2 separate regions of the Homo sapiens genome follow, and region 2 is linked to region 1. The links are contacts of gene promoters, found by promoter capture Hi-C in human tissues and cell types (Jung and others, 2019). All regions are on one chromosome and are shown on one strand. The core of a region is centred on a gene start or on the middle of the fragment in contact, and the rest is flanking DNA. Distances in the headings are between cores, read along the strand shown.

Region 1 (6,994 bases), core at 3,436-5,935:
AAAAAAAACAGTGAAGGGCTCTGAGCTAAGTGCTGAGCCAGCTCCACAGCAGCCACCAGCATCACAGGGGTCACCAGCCCCACAGAAGCCTTAACCTTCAGCAGTTGCTCCCACCAGCTCTAGCTGCTGGAGAACAAGCCCACTGGCCAGACATCCCTTCCCAGGATGCAAACTCCCCTTCCAGGGAGCCTAAAGCCAGGGCTGAAGCCGGTTCCCCTCAGTTCTACAGTCCAGAGTATCCCAAGCGACCGCTCAGCGCTGGGTGCTGGGCTGGGCCCTGGAGGTGGTGATAAGTATGTTGTTGGCCCCTCGAGGGCCTCACCGCATGGTGGAGGAGACACACAGATCATGGAACACACTTTGGTTCTCCCTAGGAAACCAGGGAAGGCATCTCAGAGATGATGCCTGAGGGTGGCTAGGAGTGGCTCTTCCCCTCCCTCCCTGCAAGGGGGGGAATTCTAACCACAGGGAGTCTAGTCCCCTTCCCCTCTCAGCTTTCCACAGGGCAGTGGTGTTAAAACCCCAGGCAGCACCCTCCTCTCCTTTCAAACATGGGTTCCTGAGGAAAACCAGATGGGGGACAGCCTCCATGCCTCTTCCCCCACCTTCTCTAGGCCTGGGGGACACCCTGAGGACCCTCCTGGGCAGGCCACGCTCCCCTCCTCAGCCCTTCTCTGGACGACCACACTCCAAAGCTCTGGCCACACTGACACCAGGTGCTTTTGGGTCTGCCCTTGAATGGCTGGGCTCCTAACCCCGCCATGTCCAGCTCGCTCCTGCCTCAGATCCTGTCCCAAGCTGCACCATGCTGGGAACACCCACATTCCCCCACCCCAGCCCTGGGCACCTTGTTTTTTTCCTTGAGTCAGGGTCTCCCTCTGTTGCCCAGGCTGGAGAGCAGTGGCGTGATCTTGGCTCACTGCAACCTCTGTCTCCCACGTTCAAGCAATTCTCCTACCTCAGTCTCCTGAGTAGCTGGGACTACAGGCGTGTGCCACTACCATGCCCAGCTAATTTTTTTGTCTTTTTAGTACAGTCTTACTAGGTTGCCCAGGCTGGTCTTGAACTCCTAGGCTCAAGTGATCCTCCCACCTTGGCCTCTCAAATTTGCTGGGATTCCAGGCGTGAGCAGCCACACCCTGCCACCGTGGAATTTTCTCTCCAGTTCTGAGAGCTAATCTCCCCAAAGCCTCAATGACTCCATCTCAAGAACCACCATCACAGACTCCCCGACCCTAATCTGCATCTCCCCTACACACTACAATTCATAGAGCCTCAGCCACATTAGGAAACACTGACCCTTTTAATTTTAAAATCCCTATGTGAAAACCCCACCTCCTTCAGGAAGCTTTCTCCAGACCTCCAGACCACCCCTTCCAAATCTTATACTCTTTTCCATATGCCTCCCTCTCCCACAGAGTGGCACTGGGGCTTCAGTTTTTATTATCATATATCCACTGATACCCACAAACATTGGCAGGATCCCAATGCCTGGGGTCCCTTAAACCCACCAGGTGCTCAATATATATGCTTACTAATCATCATAGCTATTTTTTGAGTGTTGATCCTGAGTTGGGCGTAAAGCCAAGCCCATGATATATATACTCGCTCATCTTCATAGCAACCCACAAGGTAGGGCTGTTATTACTTTATAGATGAAGAAACTGAGGTTCAGGGAGGTCCACTATTTTGTCCATGGTCATGCACATCTCTCTGACCCAAAGTCTGAGTGTTTCCACCCCACCAAGCTGCCTTTCTGTTGCCCAGAATTCATCCATTGAACATCAGATTGAGAGTACTGAATCAGCTTGTCCTTTCAGTAGCTGAGGGAACACGGAACCCCAGATATCTTATCATGGTGGAACTAGAGGTCCCTTTGGTTCTTTTATTCTATCTCACAAATAACGAAACGGAGGCACGGAGATGTGACTTACCATTGTGGTTCTGCCAGATGGTTATCAAACCAAAAAGCACTGAAAGGGGGTCTGATGAATTGTCCAACCCTTAAGGTGAATGCTTTCTTTGCTGTAGGCTGCATAATCTGCCCATATATTGGAAGGTAAGCTGGGGGAGAGGGGCAGGGATGGACCTGTCTGGGGATAATTCCTTTGTTGCAGAGACTCGAGCTATAAATCTTTCTTGCTTTGAATCAAATCACAGGATTCCAGCAGATGGGGGGCAGTGTTTATGCTATTCCCGATGACAGCAGCCCAGGCGACCACACCTTCAGAAGGACAGGGATGGAGCTGGCCTTACTGAGTCCCTAGAGGGTGGTGTAGAATGCACCATAGCTACTGAACAGACCAATCTTGCCGCAACATGCCCCCCACAAGCCTTTTCTGGCCTCAATACATGCAAATCATCATCACCATCATGATCATCATCCTCTCCCCATCCCCCACTTAGCACTTTGCACTTTTCTAAGTGCTTCCCAACAGTGCTGCATACTATAATGCATACAGTGCTCAGATAGGCCAAGTTACTTGCTGGTTAGAGCAGGCACTGGGTTATGGTCATTTTTGTTTGCCACATACCAAACTTCTGCCATGTGCCAAACCCTGTGTTAGGCCAGAAGTGGTGCTTCATGGAAGAGACATGGTTTCTGGCAGTGCCCAGGTGCCAGGAAAAACAGTGCCATCCTTGAAGCCAGCAGTGAGCTGGAGTCAGAGCTTTGCCCACTGGTGACTTATGAACATTTCCTTTTAGGGCAGACAGGGAGGGTCTTGTCCCACAGTGCCTCCCACTCCTCAAAGGAAGGGTGGCTCAGCTTCCTTAAGCTCAGAAGCACTAGGGACTAACCCCTCTTTCCTGACACAGCCCAACGCCCTTCTGGGTGGTTCTAAGAGGCTTCCCAACAAAAGGTTCGTATGAAGGCCCACCCTGAAGTCCAGCTGTCCCCAGAGTAGGGCTAAGGAGCCACCATACTCTCGTGTCATCTCAACCCTGCATGTCGTGTGGCTCTTCAGTGATTGCCACTCTGAAAGCTGTTCTGACTGTTCCTCACACTGCAGCCCCTCTTCCAGGGACACACATTCTTCCCCCCGCCGGGACCTTCCCTTTCTAGTCAGGCTGGTGGAGTCTCCCGCCGGCCACAGGAGGATGCCCACGCCTGCCTGCTCCCTGAGTGCCAGCGCCTGCCCACTACCAAAGGTTTCCTGCGGTGCAGAGGAGAGACTGTACTGCCCTTCCATCTCCCCTGGCCCCTTAGAGTCCAGTCCCAAACTGCCGGCACCTGCTCACAGCAGAATCCCTACCCTGTCTGTGCTGTCCCCGCAGTCCTCCTGGCCCTAGGGTGATCACACCACCTCAGCTCTTCCTGCAGACATGTGCTCAGGTGGGCAAAAGAGAATGAGAAATGCACCTCTCCCGTGGGGCTGAGCTGACTCTGGCTGTTCCCTAGGGGCTTAAGAACACCTGTTCTGGTTGAGTTTGCAGCCATCGCCTGTCCCCCAAAAGGGAAAGAGTAACATTTCACCTTGAAAAGAAACAGGGAGGGGATGTTTCTGAGGTGCAGGTGTTTCATGAGAGACAGGTACATTTTCTAAGGTGTGTCTAAAATGCAGCCCAATCCTATTCTACGAGAGAGAAGTTCCCGTTTGAACAAGTTCCCGTTTGAACAAGAGGATTCGAGGGGGGTCTCACCATCGTAGCCACGCACTAAGAAGCGATTGTTTTAGGGACACGGAGGTAGGACCCCCACTCAGCCAGGTGACTCTGGGACTGTGGAAGGTCCACTTACGACTCTGTACCTGCCCCAGCACGGGCTCAAGGAGTTGAGCCTGCACACATTACTTAGAAAAAACCTCTGCAAACGGGTAAGTACATCGCCCGCGTGGGCCGTGGCTGGAGGCTTGTCACCTGCTTCAGGGACTTCCTCGGGAGCCTCTCGCCTGCCTCTTTGCCTGGAATTAACGAATACACACTACAGCCCCTCATTCCCTCCAACACGAAGGAAAGGTGTAATCAGATCCCGAGAGTCCCGCAGAAGCGTGGAGCCTCGCGGTGCGGTCTCCCTTTTCTTTCCCATGCAAACCCACTTAGCACCGGCGCGCCCCTGTTTGCCCGGGCAGAATCCACCGCCCACTCCTCCCGAGTGGAGAGTGGAGACGAATCTACGCCCAGGCCCTGCACCTGCCGCGCTGCGGAGTTTGGAGGGGGCGTGGATGGTGCAAGGTCAGGGCTCCGTGTGTGACCCCGGCGGTGATAGGGCTGCTCGGGGTCGGACCACGCGGCGCGCCGGGCTTCCCTGCAGCTCGGCCGGGCAGGGGGCACATGGGCACGGTGGGAGTCCCGGCGGAACCCAGGCCGGCCACTCACCATTCTGGGAGGGCGACGGCGACGGCGACGGCGACGACGGCAGCAGCGGCGGCGTTGACAACAGTAGCAGCAGCGCCGAGAGCGCCAGCGCGCAGCGCATCGTGTCGTCGCCTCTGGGCCGGGAGCAGGTGGCTGCGGTGCCGGCGGAGGATCCGCGCGTCCGGGCGGTAGGAGCGTGGGCGCCGCCCGGGGAGGCCTGTGGGTGGCTCCGGAGGCCAGGCTGTGGCCCGGGGCTCCCGAGTCGCGCTGCGGCGGCTCTTCCTCCCTGCCGCTGCAGCAGAGCCGGGCTGGGGCGCAGAGCCAGTGGCAGAGGAGCGGCGGCGGCGGCGGCTGCGTCCTGGGCGGCGTCTGCGCGGCTGCGGCCCCACTGGCGGCTGCGGCTACTCCTGGCCCGTCCCGTCAGCGCCGGCCCCCGCCCCCGCCCCCGCCCCTCCCCCTCCCCCAGGAGCCCGCCAGCGGCGGCGGCCGGGCCGGGCGGGGCCGGGGCCGGGGCTGGGCGGGCGCTGGGCCGTGAACAATGAGCAGAGGAGGAAACTCCGCCCTGGAGCGCGACGGGCGGGAGGGCCGGCGGCCTCCGCGCCTTGGGGGGCTGTGTGTGCGCGGGGGCCAGGGCGGGGGGCTCCTGCGGTGCAGCCGGGCCCCGTCCACAGGTGTCCCGAACAGGTGTGTCCCCCCGAGTGCTTCTAAGTGGGCCCGGCGGGATCCCCCAGCACACCGCCGGGGCCCTCGCACTACGAGCAAATCCGGAGCGGGCGGACCCCCAGCCTTGCGTGGTAACTGATAACCATTCACGGCCTCCCGGGCTGCTGCGCGTTCTGCAGCGACCCCGGAGAAGCTCATCTCCCACCTGCCAAGTGCAATTCACCTGCCTGTGGGGCCCCCATCCCGCACGGCTTCTGAGCGGGGTCTCTCTGCAGCTAGGTGTGCAGCGGGCAAGCTGGACTAATTCACTCCTTCACCTCTCCAAGGGTAGGTTCCTTACCTGTGAAATGGAGATGATGGTTAAAAAACAACAGCAACAACAATTTCAGGGATGAATGTGTGCCAGGCTTTACATATATTAATTCTTTTACTCTTCATGACAACCATATTTTTAGCCTCATTTTGCAGACAGGGCAATTGAGTCAAAAAGAGGTTAAGAAACTTCCTGAGGCCACATAACGGGTAAGTGGCAAACCTGCCTCTGAGAGAAGTTTGGAGAAATACCGTGCACCGTGCCTGGAATATAGTAATTGCTCTGCAAGGAGTGGTTATTACTCTTATTCCTGCTATATAAAGAACAGCTATAAAGATTAGGGCTTTTGGGTCAAAACAGGCTGGGGCTCAAAACCTAACTGTGCCAATCTATTAATTGTAAAACCCTAGGCAAGCTATTCTCAGTACCTCATTTCTTTTTATCTGTAAAATAGGGATAATAACACCTACCTCAGGGGGTTGTTGGGAAACTTAAATGTGATCTTACAAGATAATACTTAGCCTAGGGCCAGGAACACAAAAGTCTCAATGAATGAAGTAGTTCGCCCTCCAAGTGAGGATCAGAGATATTTGCACACTGGGGGTGGGAGTGGGTGTTGGAGAATTCCGTAAACTGAGTTTATCCGGTGAAAGAACAAAGAAGTTCCTTTCCCCTCCCCCGCTCCCCTCCTTTTTTCCACCCCCAAAGCTGCCTGGGAGACGCAGACCCCAGGCCCGCCTGAAGAGGAGGCACATCGGCGGAGCCGGGAAGCGGAGGGGGCGAGGGGTGATTAACCTTGGAACCCGGGTACGGCGTAAATTTGGCTCACGTGACTCCGGGGTTGCTAATCTGGAGTCTATCTGCCAGATGGGGCTGGGTGGAGGGGTTTTCTCCAGGATCTAGCCGCGTCCCGGGCACAGGGGACTCCGTGAGCCCCTCAAGTCGGCTGCAAGCAGGCGATGCCTGCAGGGCACTGCGTCCCTGGAGCCGCGAAGGAAGCGCTGGAGCCCTGGCTGGGGTTCCGTGGCAGCCGGCCTCAAGCTTGGGAAGGGCTGACGGGGTTGTTTTCATCAGGAAGTTTCTGCAGGATCGTTCTGGCCCCGTTTTCCACACCGCATATGGGAAAGACAGAGGGTGTTCCCTATGAATACTCTGGGATATTTGTGTGTGTGACTATCTTTGATGTTTTTTTAGTACTGTTCCCCTGATATCATGTCAACAAAAGGCTTGTTTCTCTTCTGAAACCAAGCAATATATATATATATTTTTTTTTACACTGGGATTTTAAAAAATGTGTATCGCACTCTGATTTAAACAGTGTTTTTGCACTCAATCATTCAATTTATCTAAAAACTCAGAAGCAATCATGTTAACTTTATAAAGAGAGAGCGTATATTTTGAAGCTTAGGGCATTTTAAATTCACATGATTTGGGATTGGTGCCATTACAAGATCATGCAAAATTAAAATGAGAGCAGACATCTGGGCTTAGAGAAGACATAGAAAAGTTACAATTGTGCTGGACTCTCCCCAGTATCCAACAGCCCCCCTCAACTTATGCACAACGTGGCTTTCTGGAATGAGGCTGGCTGGGTTTTGAGGTCACTGGTGGCCACTGAGATGAGCTACCCCCAGGTAACTGGCCTGTGCCTTTGGCCCCATTTAGCATTGTGCTCTAACTAGCAAGCTCGCCAGCCCAGAACACCTGAGCTTATATTTGAAA
Region 2 (7,507 bases), core at 1,149-3,648, 510 kb before region 1:
CAAAGCAGTATGTTACAATGAAGTCAGTACTATAGTTCAATTCCTTGAATGGAAATTTTTTTTTTTTTTTTTTTGGAGTCTTGCTCTGTCACCCAGGCTAGAGTGCAGTGGCGTGATCTTGGCTCACTGCAAGCTCTGCCTCCCGGGTTCACGCCATTCTCTCCTGCCTCTACAGGCGCCCACCACCGTGCCCGCCACCACGCCCATCTAACGTTTTGTACTTTTAGTAGAGATGGGGTTTCACCGTGTTAGCCAAGATGGTCTCGATCTCCTGACCTCGTGCTCTGCCTGCCTTGGCCTCCCAAAGTGCTGGGATTACAGGAGTGAGCCACCATGCCTGACCTGAATGGTCATCTTAAAGAGAATTTGAAATTTTGAGTGGCCACCCACGTTTAGTGGCTTTCTTGAGGTATAATTTGCATGTCTTGAAAATTATCCATTTTAAGTACACAATTGCACACGTTTTCATACAATTTATACACAACTATCACCAGGAACATTTCCATCACCCAAACTGTTCCGCTGTGCCTGTTTAAAACCAATCTCCATGCTGCCACCCTACACCCAGGCAAAGTACTGATCTGATCTAAGGTTTTGCCTGTTCTAAAAGTTTCATATCATGGTATCATACAATACAGAGCCCTTTCACTTGGCATAATGTTTCTGAGGTTCAACCATATTGTAGTATGTACCCGTGGCATGAATCAGAATTTTATTCCTTTTCATGGCTGATATGGACATACCAAATTTTGTTTATCTATTCACCGGTTGATGGATTTGGATTGTTTCCAGTTTTTGTCTACTGTGAATAATGGTACTATGAACATCTGTTTGCTTTTTGAATGGGCATAGTTTTAGTTTTTATAACTTTACTGAGTTACTCTTGATATACAATAAATTGCACATATTTAAATATACAATGAGTTTTGACATATGTATACACCCATGAAATCATTAGACATAATCAAATAATGAATATATACATCACCCCCAAACGTTTCATTGTGCTCTTTCCTTTGGAATCCCTTTCTCCCTCCTCTCCCAAGCCATCCTCTGATCTGCAGGCACTGATCTACTGTCACTACAGATTAGCTTGCATTTTCTAGAATTTCACCTAAATGGAATCAGTATTCTGTTTTGTAGGAAAAGGTGTCTGGCTTCTTTCACACAGCATGTTATTATTTTGCAATGCATACATGTCACTGTATGTATCAATAGTCCATTCCTTTTCATTACTGAGTATTATTCCATTCTATAGATATACCACAATTTGCTTATCCATTCATCTGCTGACAGACACATAAATTAGTTCCAGTTTTCAATCACAGCTAAAGCTGCTGTTTTAACCACGTCAGACCAATCTGGTTCATCTCTTCTGTAACAAAGTTGTGAGTTGTTTTTCAGTTGCCATGGGCCCCCAGGTTGAACATCATGTAAGCTGAGCATGTCCAGATGAACCAAGCATGCAACTATAGGGGCAACCTAAATGTTCCAACCAAGGAGAGGGGACTGAACTAAGAAGTGGAAGCCGGGTGTGGTGGCTCATGCCTGTAATCCCAGAACTCTGGGAGGCCGAGGCGGGCAGATCACCTGAGGTCAGGAGTTTGAGACCAGCCTGGCCAACATGGCAAAACCCCATCTTTACTAAAAATACAAATACTGGGCATGGTGGTAGGCGCCTGTAATCCCAGCTACTTGGGAGGCTGAGGCAGGAGAATCACTTGAACCCAGGAGGCGGAGGTTGCAGTGAGCTGAGATTGCACCACTGCACTCCAGCCTGGGTGACAAGAGTGAGACTCTATCTCAAAAAAAAAAAAAAAAAAAAAAAAGTGGATATGGCATAACAGGATCCAGAATCCAACCAGATTGAGCTCTGGCATAGCCCCATGTCAGGAGCCAGTCAGAAAACACCCCCCAGCATCACTTCATCACAAGATCCAATTGGATCACACCCTATTACCCTATGCTTATAAAACTCTACCCAACTACCAGCTCCAGGAGGCAGATTTGGGTGCTTCTTCCTGGCTCCTTGCCAGTCCAGTCATGATAAAGCTTATTTTTCCTCAAAAGCCAGCGCCATGGTATTGGCCTCCATGTGCCTTGGGAAGCAGGCCCATTGATTGCTTGCTGGGTGACACTATGAACATCATATACCAACTTTGCCTGGACACATGCTGTCATTTTTCCTGACAGCATACCTTGGAAATAGAATTGCTGAGTTACACATTAAGTGTATATTGAACTTTTTAAGAAACTGCCAAACTGTTTTCCATCATGGCCATACTGTTTTATATTCCCACCAGCAATTTGAGAGGATTCTGGTTTCCGCATATCCTTGTCAACACTTGGATTGTCAGTCTTTTTAATTTTAGCCATTCTGGTGGTTGTTGTTATGGCTTTAATTTGCATTTCCCTAATGAGTGAGTGGCTGCTTAGTTTAGTGGTCAGCCAGTGGATTTGGGCAGAGATTAAGCCCAGCCACCTTGCACCAGTAAGGCTTCCAACATCTGCAGATGGAACAGTCTGCATGGAAGGTAGCATTCAAAGTTGTACCCAGATCTCAAGTCTCTTCTGGCTTTCACTTTTTGCTGGGCTCTACTGAGTATCCCCTGGGCATGCAAAGTTTAGCTGTCTGCTACAGATGGTTGGGGAGCCATGTTAGCCCTCTATAGGTCTCTCATTTCTAGGATCTCCTTGTTAAATTTCTGGATGGTGGCCTCAAACTAGCAAACTTCAAACTCAAAGTAGCAAAGCTGTGAGTTTTTCATTATTAACTGATTATGCCACTTTTAGCTAGCAAAGCTGTGATTTCTTAACCCCAACCTTTACCCACACTTCAAATTGAGTCTATCATGTCTGATAAAACAGCAGTTCGACAACTGAGATAGTGGGCAAGGAGAGAAGAAACCCCATGCGAGAAGGCCACAACCCCTATCCTTCATACCCAAAGATTCAGTGTATCAATAACGCTTCTCAATCTATTATCTGCCTTTTGTTTCCAGTGCCCAGAAACGACCATTTTGGACAATCTCATCCAGTTTTACGCTTGTTTTATTCAGAAAGAGAATCACCTATCCTCTTCACATCACCATTAAGGGAAATGATCTTGGCTACTCATTTTTAATTCCTCAGTTTTCCACAGCATAAAGTATGACGATAATACAAAAATGAAGTATGACTATAATTCAACTCCAAGTATCAAATATAGAAATGCTCTCAAAGTTTGATAGAAAATTTATCATCAGAACGTGAATATTTTATATTAAGAGAGTGGCTCTTCCACATAGTACCAGCAAGCTAACATTATATTAAAGTACCAAAATAGCCAGTTCAGTAACTTTGAGACTCCTAGAAGATAAACTGGTTGATTGCTTGGACCTCAGCTGTGACTTGGCCACAAAACTCAAAACACAATCGATTCTGTGGTGTCATTAACAAAGTCTGACACAGGCAAAAAGCAAATTCTTGCAGTTCTATTAGTATGAGTATGTATTACAAATATTCTCAGCCCAGATTTTGTTACATTATACTTTTTCCAGTTATTTCACATGCTACCACAAAATCCTCAAGTATAATTTAGTTTTAACATTACTTCATATTTATATAATACAATGCTTTATAGTTGACTAAGCCCCTGCACCTACTAGTTCATCTGATCCTCATAAAAACCTCCTGTGGCAGGTAAAGCAAATATTACCCTCATTTTATACCTGCTGGAACTGAACACAGAGGGATTAAGTGTTCCACATAGCTAGGAAATCAGATCTAAAATCCACTTATTCTGGCAATATTTCATTTTGTGTGACCTTGGGTATTGTGTCTCTGCCTCAATTTCTTCAAATGTTTCAATAACTTCCTCAAAAGTAAGGAAAAGAAATTACACCCCAAACATCAGCTTTTTCAACATTTTCAGTTGACGAGAACTAGTCTTAACATTTGTTACCTTAACATTTTTAATTCCCGGAATGTGAATGCAGACACTGAGCAAGAAGCAGCCAAATTTCATAACAATTGCAAAAGCCACCTTTAACATACAATGCCAATCTCTACATTCTCTCTCTTTCTCTGTCTCTCCCCCGATCCCTCCCACCCCTCTGCCTCTTCCACAACACAATTCTATGAAATCATCTTAGGAGGGAAGCACTACACCTCCACCCCTAACACACACAGGTGGTGGTCTTAAATGTCATAAATCTAGTAGGCCATTTCAGAAAAATAACTTGAAATCTCTCTAACACATGCATTGGGAGAAACATGTAATTTCTCTCATCTTAAAAAACCAAAACCAAAACTTTCCTTGACTCTTCTGGACTTCACAAGTTACTCAAAAGAGAGTCTGTCTGTACTCACTCTTCAATCCAGTTCCTCCAATTCTCCCTGGAATCTGCTCCACTCTGGCTTTTGTCTCTACCATTTCACTGAAACCACTCGCCAAGATCACTAACATCCTCCTCACTGCTAAATCTTCTGATCAATTTTCAGCTGGCATCTTACCTGACCCATCAGCAGCATCTGACAAGGTGGGTTACTACTGCTTCCCTTGGTGTCTAGAGTATCACGATTTACACCTTCCTGTCTGTTCCTCAATCTGCCCTGCTGACTCCATGGGACCAGGAGAGGCCCCAGACCACTCTTCTCACTCCCTTGGTGGCCTCAATCCTTCTTATGACTTTGAACAACAGTTCAATGCTAATGACTTCAAATTTGCCTTTTTAATCCTGACCTCCCACTGAAGTCCAGACTCTGCCTACATGACCTTTCTGCTTAGATATCTAAAGAGGAATCTCAAATGTAATGTGTTTAAAACTGAGCTCCTAGTGCTGCCTCCAATCGGTCCCTCCACAATCCACCCCCCTATCTCAGCAAAGGCACCTCCACTCTCAGTTGTTCAGGCTGCAAACTGTGGAGTCTTCCCTGACACTCCTTTCTGTCTCTCATCTCATATCTAATTTCACAACATATAACTAGAATTCCGTCATTTCTCCTCACATCCCTTGCTTATGGTCTCAGGCACCATCTTGCAGCTGGGTCACTGCAGTAGCCTCACTGGGTCTCTCCGCTTCTACCCTTGCAAACACCCCCACCCCTAGCCCAGAGTATTCAAATCACATTACCTTCATTAGAAAGATCATGTTGCTTCTCTCCTTAAAATCCACCAATTCTTTTTCATCTCACTGGAAGCCAAAACCCATACAATAACCACTGCTCACACTGTTATGGGAAAGGGGTCCTGATCCAGACCCCAAGGGAGGACTCTTGTATCTCATGCAAGAAAGAATCTGAGGCAAGTCGATAAAGTGAAAGTAAGTTCATTCAGAAAGTAAAAGAATAAAAGAATGGCTACTCTATAGTTGCCCATTTTTATGGTTATTTCTTGATTATATGCTAAACAAGGGGTGGATTATTTATGCCTCCCCTTTTTAGACTATATGGGGTACTAACCTGACGTTGTCATGGCATTTGTAAACTGTCATGGTGCTGGTGGGAGTGTAGCAATGAGGACAATCGGAGGTCACTCTCAATGCCATCTTAGTTTTGGTGGGTTTTGGCCGGCTTCTTTACTACAAACTTTTTTATTAGCAAGGTCTTTAGGACTCGTATCTTGTGCTGACCTCCTATCTCATCCGGTGACTTAGAATGCCTAACTCTTTGGGAATGCAGCCTAGTAGGTCTCAGCCTTATTTTACCCAGCCCCTACTCAAGATGGGATTGCTCTGGTTTTTATGCCTCTGACAACATGACATGACCATCCATATCCTCTCATCTCCTCTTTTTTTTTTTTTTTTGGAGACAGAGTCTTGCCCTGTCGCCAGGCTAGAGCACAGTGGCACGATCTCAGCTCACAGCAACCTCTGCCTCCCAGGTTCAAGCGATTCCCCTGCCTCAGCCTCCTGAGTAGCTGGGACTACAGGCACCCACCACCACACCTGGCTAATTTTTTGTATTTTAGAGTAGATACGGGATTTCACCATGTTCGCCAGGATGGTCTTGATCTCCTGACCTCGTGCTCCACCTGGCCTTGGCCTCCCAAAGTGCTGGGATTACAGCCCCTTCACTCACTCCACTCCATTCACTAGCCTCCTCCTATTTTCAAACAAGCCAGGCATGCTTCTGCCTCAAGGTCTTTGCATTTGCTATCCTCTCTGCCTACAACACTCTTCCCCCAAACACCCACAGGCTCTTTCCATCAACTTCTTCACAACTTCTCACTGAGGCCTTCCCTAAACATTCTCTTTACCAGTCAACTCTTCAGCCCTTACTCTTGCCTGCCTTACATTTCTCCAAAGCACTCATTGCTTTCTAATATACTACATATTGTACTTTTTTATTTGTTCTTAGTCTGTATCTTCCTGCTAGAATGTTACCTCCATGAAGGCAGAGAGTTTAGTTCGTTTTGTTCACTACTGTATCACCAATACCTACAATACTGTCTGACACATGGTAGGCAGTCAATAAATATTTGATGAATCAAAGAATCAAATTCTTAAAACAATACAAATGTATATGAATTGATCCATAGGAGGACCAGAAAGTTCAAGAACTACAGAATGCTAGGTACTGGATAACTAAGAATGTTGATTGTATGTGATGATATAGATCAGTTCCATCCAAAAGAAGTATAATGCAAGCTACAACTAATTTTAAATTTTCCAGCAGTCACATAAAAAAGTAAACAAAAACAAGTGATATTAATTTTAATAACATGTTTTAATTCAATATATCCAAAATATTATCACTTCAAAATGTGAGTCATATAAAACCTAGTATTTTAGTCTTTTTAAATTTTTTTTTGAATTATGGTATTTTCTGCAGAGCACATTTCCGTTAGTACTACTCATATTTCAAACATCTAATAGCTACATGTGGCATGTGGCCAGTTGCTACCATATTGGACAACACAGATTTGGACCAAAATTAAATAATCCCACTGCAGTGGCGAATATCTTGTAGATTTATTCACTGTTTTTAGTTTAAGATTCCCAAACAAGGCCCTGGTACAACTTCATGGTTTACTAGTTTTGTCAAAACAGTTTCAAAGGATATAGTACGAGGAATAATAGCTCTTGTTCTGAGAAACCATTTGTTTTCAATGTAACTGACTCAACACTTAAAACACTTTAAACTTCATTCAGGTGTTTTGATTAGAAAGAATGAAAGCCATTCTTCCCTAGTCTGTTTGAGAAAGTTAAATCCAGACAGATTCTGTGATCTTATCTATATTAGTATTGGAAAAATCATTATTTTCAAATAGAAAGAACTATTAAAATTTTATTTCCACTAAACCAGTATTTATTTCAAATTAACCAAAATGCATCCTGCATTAAAAGATAATTTTTACATACAGTTGCATTTTAAAAATGTATTAACAGTTGTTTTACCAATATTTTTTACATTTTATAATGTAAAAATGAAATAAAGCACTAAGGAGAATGCTTTTAAATTTTTTTTTTTTTTTTTTTTTTTTTTGAGACAGAGCCTCTCTGTCGCCCAGACTGGAGTGCAGTGG

Evidence for each region. Contacts are between HindIII fragments. The study calls those that stand out against the background at their distance.
Region 2: a fragment that was not itself captured here is called in contact with the fragment with the promoter of PODXL in region 1 in 1 of the 25 tissues and cell types used here (dorsolateral prefrontal cortex).

Annotation. Positions count from the first base shown.
Region 1 is chr7:131,551,943-131,558,936 of GRCh38, forward strand. PODXL (podocalyxin like) reads right to left here and starts at 4,686. Exons shown (of 9, transcript NM_001018111.3): 1 at 4,318-4,686. The coding sequence starts at 4,417. RefSeq lists enhancers at 268-775, 5,074-5,621 and silencers at 4,307-4,816, 4,897-4,956, 4,987-5,106. The HindIII fragment of the contact is 6,040 bases long and covers 455-6,494 here.
Region 2 is chr7:131,044,424-131,051,930 of GRCh38, forward strand. All of the region lies in intron 3 of LINC-PINT (long intergenic non-protein coding RNA, p53 induced transcript), which reads right to left. Among named protein-coding and RNA genes, the nearest start is that of LINC-PINT, 62 kb to the right of the region's middle. RefSeq lists an enhancer at 211-355 and a cis regulatory region at 283. The HindIII fragment of the contact is 6,752 bases long and covers 1-5,774 here.